Regions from separate parts of the Homo sapiens genome. Here region 1 is linked to region 2. The links are contacts of gene promoters, found by promoter capture Hi-C in blood cells and fetal thymus (Javierre and others, 2016). All regions are on one chromosome and are shown on one strand. The core of a region is centred on a gene start or on the middle of the fragment in contact, and the rest is flanking DNA. Distances in the headings are between cores, read along the strand shown.

The links. The method cuts DNA at HindIII sites, captures the fragments that hold promoters and counts their contacts. A CHiCAGO score of 5 or more calls a contact.
Region 1: a fragment that was not itself captured here is called in contact with the fragment with the promoter of DOCK7 in region 2 in 1 of 17 cell types (megakaryocytes); the score reaches 6.2 in megakaryocytes.

Annotation. Positions count from the first base shown.
Region 1 is chr1:62,541,131-62,545,205 of GRCh38, reverse strand. DOCK7 (dedicator of cytokinesis 7) reads left to right here. Exons shown (of 50, transcript NM_001367561.1): 23 at 167-259; 24 at 1,461-1,550; 25 at 2,503-2,598. Among named protein-coding and RNA genes, the nearest start is that of ANGPTL3, 54 kb to the left of the region's middle. The HindIII fragment of the contact is 5,345 bases long and covers 1-4,075 here.
Region 2 is chr1:62,685,799-62,690,146 of GRCh38, reverse strand. DOCK7 (dedicator of cytokinesis 7) reads left to right here and starts at 1,761. Exons shown (of 50, transcript NM_001367561.1): 1 at 1,761-1,920. The coding sequence starts at 1,883. DOCK7-DT (DOCK7 divergent transcript) reads right to left here and starts at 1,665. Exons shown (of 2, transcript NR_185999.1): 1 at 1,495-1,665. RefSeq lists an enhancer at 355-649 and a silencer at 1,659-2,408. The HindIII fragment of the contact is 2,843 bases long and covers 1-2,611 here.

The DNA of each region.
Region 1 (4,075 bases), core at 744-3,243, 150 kb after region 2:
TTTTGATGAACTAATACTCTATAGGTGCCTACAAATTTTGGTTGCTTTAACAGTACTAATTAAAAACATGTTTGCATTAGAAGATCTGAATTTCTTTAAGAATAATTTATAGCATGCAACATGTAATATTTCTTTCCTTTCAAACTGCTTTCTATTATATGCTTAGGGTTTAGATCGCTCCAATTCCTGGGTTAACACTGGTGGTCCAAAAGCTGCCCCATGGGGATCCAACCCCAGTCCAAGTGCAGAATCAACACAGGTGGTGTTTATATTAGAGGTTTCTTTATTGGCTGCTGATGTTTCCCTTTAGAACATTACTTTTTAGTATATACTATGATTTCAGTGGCTTGCTTTTTTTAATCATTAAAAAGTGTGTATTTTTGTTTACTTAGCACATTTTCCAACTACTATGCATGAGTACCACCAATTGCACCAGTAATGTTCTTCTTTCCTATTTCCTATCTCTGTCTTCTTTCTTCCTTACACACCCTATCAATATTTCAGTGCCTGCTGCTTATGCAATTGATGGCTTTTATAACAGTTTCTTCTTTAGGGGTAGCACGTCTTTAATAGCAATTTTTAAATTTTTTACGTGGAGGAAAAAACCCAACAGTTTTCTATTTGCTTTTGGTTTAAAGTGTAACTATTGTATCATTTTCATTTAACATTTACTATCTTGTTATTTTCTTCCTAATCACCGAATAGAAAGACTGGCAATAAGTTGAAATTGAATGTGAACAGTATATGATCCCCGTGCTATAAGACTCAATACCAGAAGCAAAAATCCATTTTAATTTGTACTGTGTTGCAAAGTATGAAATTTGTTATACCTTAGCTGAATTAGGTTTTGCTTACTTAAGACTAGTTGCTTGATAGCTAATACTGCATGATATCTCAAAATATACTTCTCATCTGTGTTGGCTTTGGAGGGAAATCCTGTTCCTAAATAAAATTTTTAATTCCATTTCTAATATTGTAAATGATTTATATTTGATTTAGTATATGACAAACCTGAATAGTAGTTTTTGATAATAATGAAAAAGTGAAAGAAATTATTCTAAACTTTTTCTTTTCTTTAATATAAAGTTACTGATTTCTTTTTTGGTCTGAGACCAGTTGAGAAGTATGTTTTTACTTTTTATATATTTTTACTAGATATGTGCATGTATATAGATCACACAGATAAAAGTTTCATTCTTTGCAACACTCTGAATATTATATAATCACTGAAATACTCATCATTTTTTAAAGACCAAAAATATATAGAAGCCATTTTGATACTACTTATGCATTGTCATTAAAGCAGCTTAACATGGTGAAAATGAGATGAGCAATAAAATAGATGGTTTTTGAAACCATAATAAAACTCTGTTTTAAACTTGTACATAATCCATCAGCTGCAAAGTCATCCACTGCAAACGTTAATGTTATCTCGTCATTCATTCATCTTCACTCCATAGGCTATGGATCGAAGTTGTAATCGTATGTCTTCGCACACAGAGACGTCAAGTTTCTTACAAACATTAACGGGACGCTTACCAACTAAAAAGGTAGATTCATATGAAGACAATTCATAGAGGGGGAAAATAATTTCACCAATTAAATAGATGTAAGATTTCTTTACATAACCAGTATGAGATACTTACAGTAATTGCATTGTGCTTAAAAATATATCTGAACAAGCATTGCTTGTCTGATGCCTTTTGGGGCATATCTTGTCAATGTATACTTTTTTACATTATGATAATGTTTATATCTTTGGGATTGACTATTTTTAGGATTTAGTGAATTCAAATTTGATCATCAAATTTTAGTACCAAAAAAATGTATCAACTCTTAATTCTGTTTCTGTAACTGCTTCTGTTTTGTGTTTTAAATCTCCAGGGAAAGGAAGATGAGTTAGAAAAATTGTCACTCTTAGTAAGATATGTTGATTTGCTTCCCTTATGCACAGTTTTGTTAGTCCTTTTTCATATTAATATACACTACTTTGCAAATGCTTTGTATGCATATCCATTATAAGGCAGAAATCTTCTGCTATTTTTTTTTAAAAAGACCTTACCTGAAAACTTGAAAATTAATGGCTCATAGCAAAGTTTAAATTTTAAAATGTATTTCCTAAATTGTACCAGCAAAGTTCATGCATGTATTTGCGTATGTTTAAAAATGTACTTAAGATACAAACAAAATATTACTGTACTATAAGTTTTTAGTCTAGTTTCTGTTTGCAGGTACAATTTAGGAGGCTATCTTCTACCTGTCCTTTTAAAATTACATTTTACTGCAAGATAACATGTAATTTTTTCAGCTGTTCCACATACCACTGTCTTACATACATAAATAGCCGTTTCGTTAATGGGTGTCTTCAGTGCATCATTGAATGGTTCACGTGCCTTATTTTGCTTATTCTCATTATATCTTCGTTTGTATTTGCATTATGATTTGGTTTATGTTATCAGCAGATTTGACTTTGATAATAACTTTGGATTTACTTCTGGATAGCTTTTTCACGAGGAGCTGGCTTTGCAGTGGGTTGTTTGCAGTGGCAGCGTTCGGGAATCAGCTTTGCAACAAGCCTGGTTCTTTTTTGAATTAATGGTGAGCAAAAACTGAGCATGTTCTTTAATATTTTTTCTCTTAGTGAACAATTTTATGCTAGCTCATTTGTTACCTTAGAAATCTTTTTCTGTTGCACATCTTAACGCTTTTCCATGTGCCTCTAAGACAAAATTACATGTGTTACATCTCTAAATAAACACTGTGGACACTCAACACAGTTTAGGTGGAATTAAGAGTGAGGCTCATTTTAACTCTTATTTTCTCAGGGATGGTTGCATAAGCTAGCTATATTTTCAAAGGAAACTTGTGATACATTCTTTGCTAGTCATTATACATGAAGTGTATAATGACAGTATTGTAGATTTTATACCAAAGATGGAAAGAGCTTTATAGATACCCACTGCTATTGTTATGGCTAGTAAACCCTTAGGGAAATGCCAGTTACAATCAATAAAAAAACAACAGTACTGGCTGGGTGCAGTGGCTCACACCTGTAATCTCAGCACTTTAGAAGGCCGAGGCAGGAGGATCACTTGAGATCAGGAGTTTGAGACCAGCCTGGGCAACATAGCAAGAGCCCATATCTACCAAAAAAATTTTTTTTTAAATTAGCTAAACCTGGTGGCACAAACCTGTAGTTCCATCTACTTGGAAGGCTGAGGAGGGAGGCTTGCTTGAGCCCAGAAGTTCAAGGCTGCAGTCAGCTATGATCACCACTGCACTCCGCATGGATAACAGAGCAAGATCCTGTCTCTTTAAATTTTTTAAGTACTTTTTGCTTAATCAAATAAGTGACACTTTTAAAATGAGTGAATTAATATTTCAATTAATAAATACATATATATGAACAGTTGACCCTTGAACAACTTGGGGTTTAGGGGAACCGACTCCCCCACACAGTCAAAATCTGCATATAACTTCTGACTCACCTAAAACTTAACTACTAATAGCCTACTGCTGACCAGATGCCTTACTGGTAACATAATCATATTTTGTATGTTATTCATATTATATACTGTGTTCTTAGAATAAGCTAGCGAAAAGAAAATGTTATTAAGAAAATTATAAGGAAGTTAAAATATATTTGCTCTTCATTAATTGGAAGTGGATCATCATAAATGTCTCCATCCTCATTGTCTTCACATTGAATAGGCTGAAGAGGAGGGGTTGGTTTTGCTGTCTCAGGAGTGGCAGAGGTGGGAGAAAACCTACATATAAGTGGACTCATGCAGTTCAAACCCATGCTGTTCAAGGGTCACCTGTACATATAAACTTGTATATGTAAACACACACATATGTAAACAAAGGCAACAAACATTACAAACATTTATCAAGTGGGCACAATATGCCAGTACTGCCCTGTGGCCTAGGTATTACTAAGGCACAGAGAAGTTAAGTAACTTGTCTTAGAATGCACAGCTTGTAGGTAGCAGGACTGTAATTAAAACTCAGGCATTTCAGCACTTGGGACCGTCTTCTTCACCTTCGTCTTCAGCCTCTATAAAGCTGAAATCAC
Region 2 (4,348 bases), core at 512-3,011:
TCACAGAGGGTCTTAAAAGCCAGGTACAGTGATAGCCTTGACTTACAGTCTGTGAGTACCTGGTTCATCTTTCCCAATGGACTCAAACATTCTGAGAGCAGGTCTGTGTCTAGTTCACCTTCGTGTTTTTTAGAACACCTAGGTGGGCTCTATACTTAGGTAGAAGCCAAATATCTGTCCTCTTTGAATAGACTATCTTTTCCTTTAGTAAACAAGCATCTGAAAACAGTGTGTTACTGGAGGGCGCCTTGGCAAGAGCCTGTGGTACTAGCTACTCCTCCAGAGGCTGAGGCAAGAGGATTGCTTGAGCCTAGGAGTTTTAGGCTGCAGTGCCCTATGCATTCCATGCTTGAGCAACACAGGGGGATTCTGTCTAAAATAAATAAATCAATAAATAAAAGCAGTGTGTTACTGCAATGAGCATTGTTATATAAATACACAGTCTTCCACAGAAGTTACAGCACTAGACAGGAAGTTATGGATCTGACTAATTGAGGCTTTCACCTCTGACTCAGTGTGTGACTCTGGCAAGTGACCTAATGGCTCCAAGCTACAGATTTTCCAATGGTAAAAGAGAGGAAAACAGGTATCCAACATATTCCACCAGGACATACTGAGAATATAATAATAACAATAAATAAATACACATTTTAAGTTCTTGCAATACTTAAGAGGAAAGGTACTACAAGAAACCAAGATATTTTTCTTAGTGTCACCATAATTTCAGTATCAACAGATATGCATTAGGAGCCAAATATTCTAGACATTATGGGATTACAACAGAACAGATGAAAACAAATCTCTGCTAGTCTCTGTTTTATAGGCTATTATGGACAAGGTCAGTTTCAGTGGTCAACACAGAGCTTATTTAACAGAACATCAAAATGGGGGTGAACGTTAGAGCTCACCTGGATTTTATATATATATATATATATATATATATATATATATATATATATATATATATGTATGTATGAGAGACAGAGAGAGATCCAAAAGGGGTTAATAATACGGAAACAACTGTCCTCAAAGAAAAGAACCGGCTCTGGGTTTGAGTCTCAGTGGAAGAGTTTACCATCTGTGCGACCTGGGGCCAGTCACTTAGCTTTTCCAAGCCAATTTCCTTCCCTCTAAAATAGTGATAGTAACGATCTACTTCAAAGCGCTCGTGCTTGAAAAACTTTAATCCAGTGGCTGGCTAAGCACCAGAAGTCAACTATTACTATTGTTATCGCTGCAGGAGCAAGGTATTTTCTGGCTCTTTCTCTATAAGAAAAACCACTGTTTCTCCAGTTAGGCTGCATTCATGAGGCCGAAGCAGAAACCCAAGTGCTTTAAAAAGCTCGGAGACCGGTGCTGCAGAAACATGAACCCAGTCATCCAGGGCTTTGGTTAAAGCACAGCCCCCTCGGCAAAGCCCACCTTTCATTTCCTTCCCTTCCATTTCGGGAAAGCCAAGCTCCCCCTACGCGTTCGGTTATCTTATTTTCTTGCCTCGCCAGGTCGCTGGCCTGTCTCTGGCTTCTCTCCGCGACCTCTCGGTCGTGCAGGCTCCGCGGCAGCGAAGCGGCTGGGGCTGGCGCCTCGCTTCCTCAGCGCTCCATTCTTCCCCTCGGCTCCCGCCGGCCGCAGCCGCCTTCCGCAGCCGGGGTTCCCGCCGGGATTGACGCGCTGGGGGAGGAGCGGTTTCTCGTTGCGCGCCTCTAAGGAACATTACGGCAGGGCTCGTTCCTGGCTCCGGCCGCCAGCCCCAGCCTCCCAGGTCCGGAGCCCGGACTGGCGGAGGCCGCGAGGGAGGGAGCACGAGCGAGGAGGCACGCGCCCGCCGGTCCGCACCCGGCCCGCCGCAGCCGCCGCCGCCGTCGCCGTCGCCGCAGCAGCCATGGCCGAGCGCCGCGCCTTCGCCCAGAAGATCAGCAGGTAAATATCCGGCGTGGGGCGCGCCGCCGCCGCCGCCCGAGAAAGAGCCGCGGAGTCCTCCCAGGCCTGGCCTAGGAGGCGGGTGGGTGTGGCGGGGCCGGCACCGGGATCCCGCGGCCTGGCTCGCGGCGGGGCGGAAGGGGTTCGGGGTGGCTGAGGGGGTAGCGGAGGCCTCGCGCCGCCCTCGAACCCCGGCCTTCAGCCCGCGCCCGCCGCTGAGCCTCGGCAGGGAGCGGAGAGGGCCGCGGACTCCAGCGCGCCCGCCTCCTCCTGCTCCTCGGCGGCCCGGGCCTGGACTTCTGCGGAGGTTTATGGAAGGGCGGTCGGCCGCTTCCCAAATTCTTTGTGTTCCCACCCCCGGGCTCGTCGGGGGCCGCCGCGGCGTTTCGCCCCCTCCCGTCTCTCCGCCCACCCCTCTTGGCCCCTAGAGGGTGCGGGGTCCGCCCTCCTCCACCCCAACAAAAGGAGAAACGCGCGGCGGCTCGGGGCGGGTGGGAGGCCGCCCCTCCTTCACGCGTCTCTCTCTTCCTGAGAAATCTGACAGGAACCCTCTTTGCACCCTCGGGCCAGGTTCAAAGTGGACTTGTGCGTCCAGGATTGAAAACGTGTGGACAGAATGAAAAGTTGAGAGCTGCGGGCTGCACCTTCGGTGTGCAGCTGCCGAATCCCTGACGGATTGCAGGCTGAAGCTTGTTCTGAGTTCGCCTGTGAATTTAACTGTGCGCCTGTGTTTCTCAGAGCACCCGAGAAGATGGATGATAGGCAGTGTTCTTTATACACTGACATCCTTTTATATGTTAGCAGTCTTGAAGTAAAGCAAGTGATTGCAGTCTTGAAGTAAAGCAAGTGATTGAGGTGGAGGTTTCAAAGCCTTTCACCTACTTGTGGTGGTTGGTTGCCACCTTTCTCCCACCCGCCAAATAAAAATTAAATGACAGAGGACTCTAATATTTGTAGAATTTCTTTGTGGAGTATACTTATGTATGAGACAGTAGACATTTTTGTTTTAATAAAATCATATTTGTGTGAATTATGATGTCCCAAGAAAAGAAGCATTCATATTAAATTACCTTTTTTTGTTTTGGGGCAGTTGTAGTTCTGTGGCTCTGAGTCTTTTTAGTTTGCTGACATTTCTTTAAAAATTTTGGGCCGGATGCAGTGGCTCAGGCCTGTAATCCCAGCAGTTTGGGAGGCCGAGGCAGGAGGATCGCTTGAGGCCAGGAGTTCAAGACCAGCCTGGGCAACATAGCGAGTCCCCCCCACCCCATCTCTGCAAAAAAATTAGCCAGGTGTGGTGTTGCACCTGTCGTCCTAGCTGCTTTCGAGGCAGAGGCTTTTTTTTTTCTTTCTTTCCAGCGTTCTAGCACTTTTTTTTTCCTGAAGGGGCAAAATAGCAAGTGTTTAAGAGCATGGGCTCTACTCTCAGACCCCGACATGGGTTCAAATCCTGATTGGTATTTTCTAGCTTGGGACTTTGGCCAAGTTGTTGGGCCAAATTTCCGTTTCCTCGTCTGGCAAATGAGAATAATAATAGGACCCAGCTCATAGTGTTGTTGTGAACATTAAGTGGCATAATTTGTGTAATGTGCGTAGGATAGTACAGGGCCTATACTACCTGTCATCAAACACTTGTAGTAATTAGTTTCTCCCAGGGAGTTATGATGACAGGAAATTTTTTTTTTTTGTAAAATAATTAGGTCTTACTTCTGATGATGATGTCATTAAAAAATGTTATTACTGGCCGGGCGCGGTGGCTCACGCCTGTAATCCCAGCACTTTGGGAGGCCGAGGCGGGTGGATCATGAGGTCAGGAGATCGAGACCATCCTGGCTAACAAGGTGAAACCCCGTCTCTACTAAAAAAAAAAAATACAAAAAATTAGCCGGGCGCGGTGGCGGGCGCCTGTAGTCCCAGCTACTCGGGAGGCTGAGGCAGGAGAATGGCGTGAACCCGGGAAGCGGAGCTTGCAGTGAGCCGAGATTGCGCCACTGCAGTCCGCAGTCCGGCCTGGGCGACAGAGCGAGACTCCGTCTCAAAAAAAAAAAAAAAAAAAAAAAAAAAAAAAAAAAGTTATTACTTGACATGTATTCCTAGTTTTAATTTCTCTTATTAGAACCAGAAGTTTATCTCTGAAAACATCATGCTGATAAAGTAAGTGCACTTTAGAGAGTTGGATATGAAATTGTATGTCTATTAGTGGAGTTCGCCACCAGATGGGATAGGACAAACCACAAGAGAAAAAGAGAATCAGTTGTGCAAAACAACACAAAATGCAAATAAGAACAGCTTTCTAAGAAGTTATAAAATTAAGATAATGTGAATGAAGAAATGTGCACTTATTGGACAGACAGGAGGTGGATATGGTAGTGATTGGTGATTGGACATGCAAGGTGAGGCGGACTGAGGAGTCTGGGATGACATCCTAAGT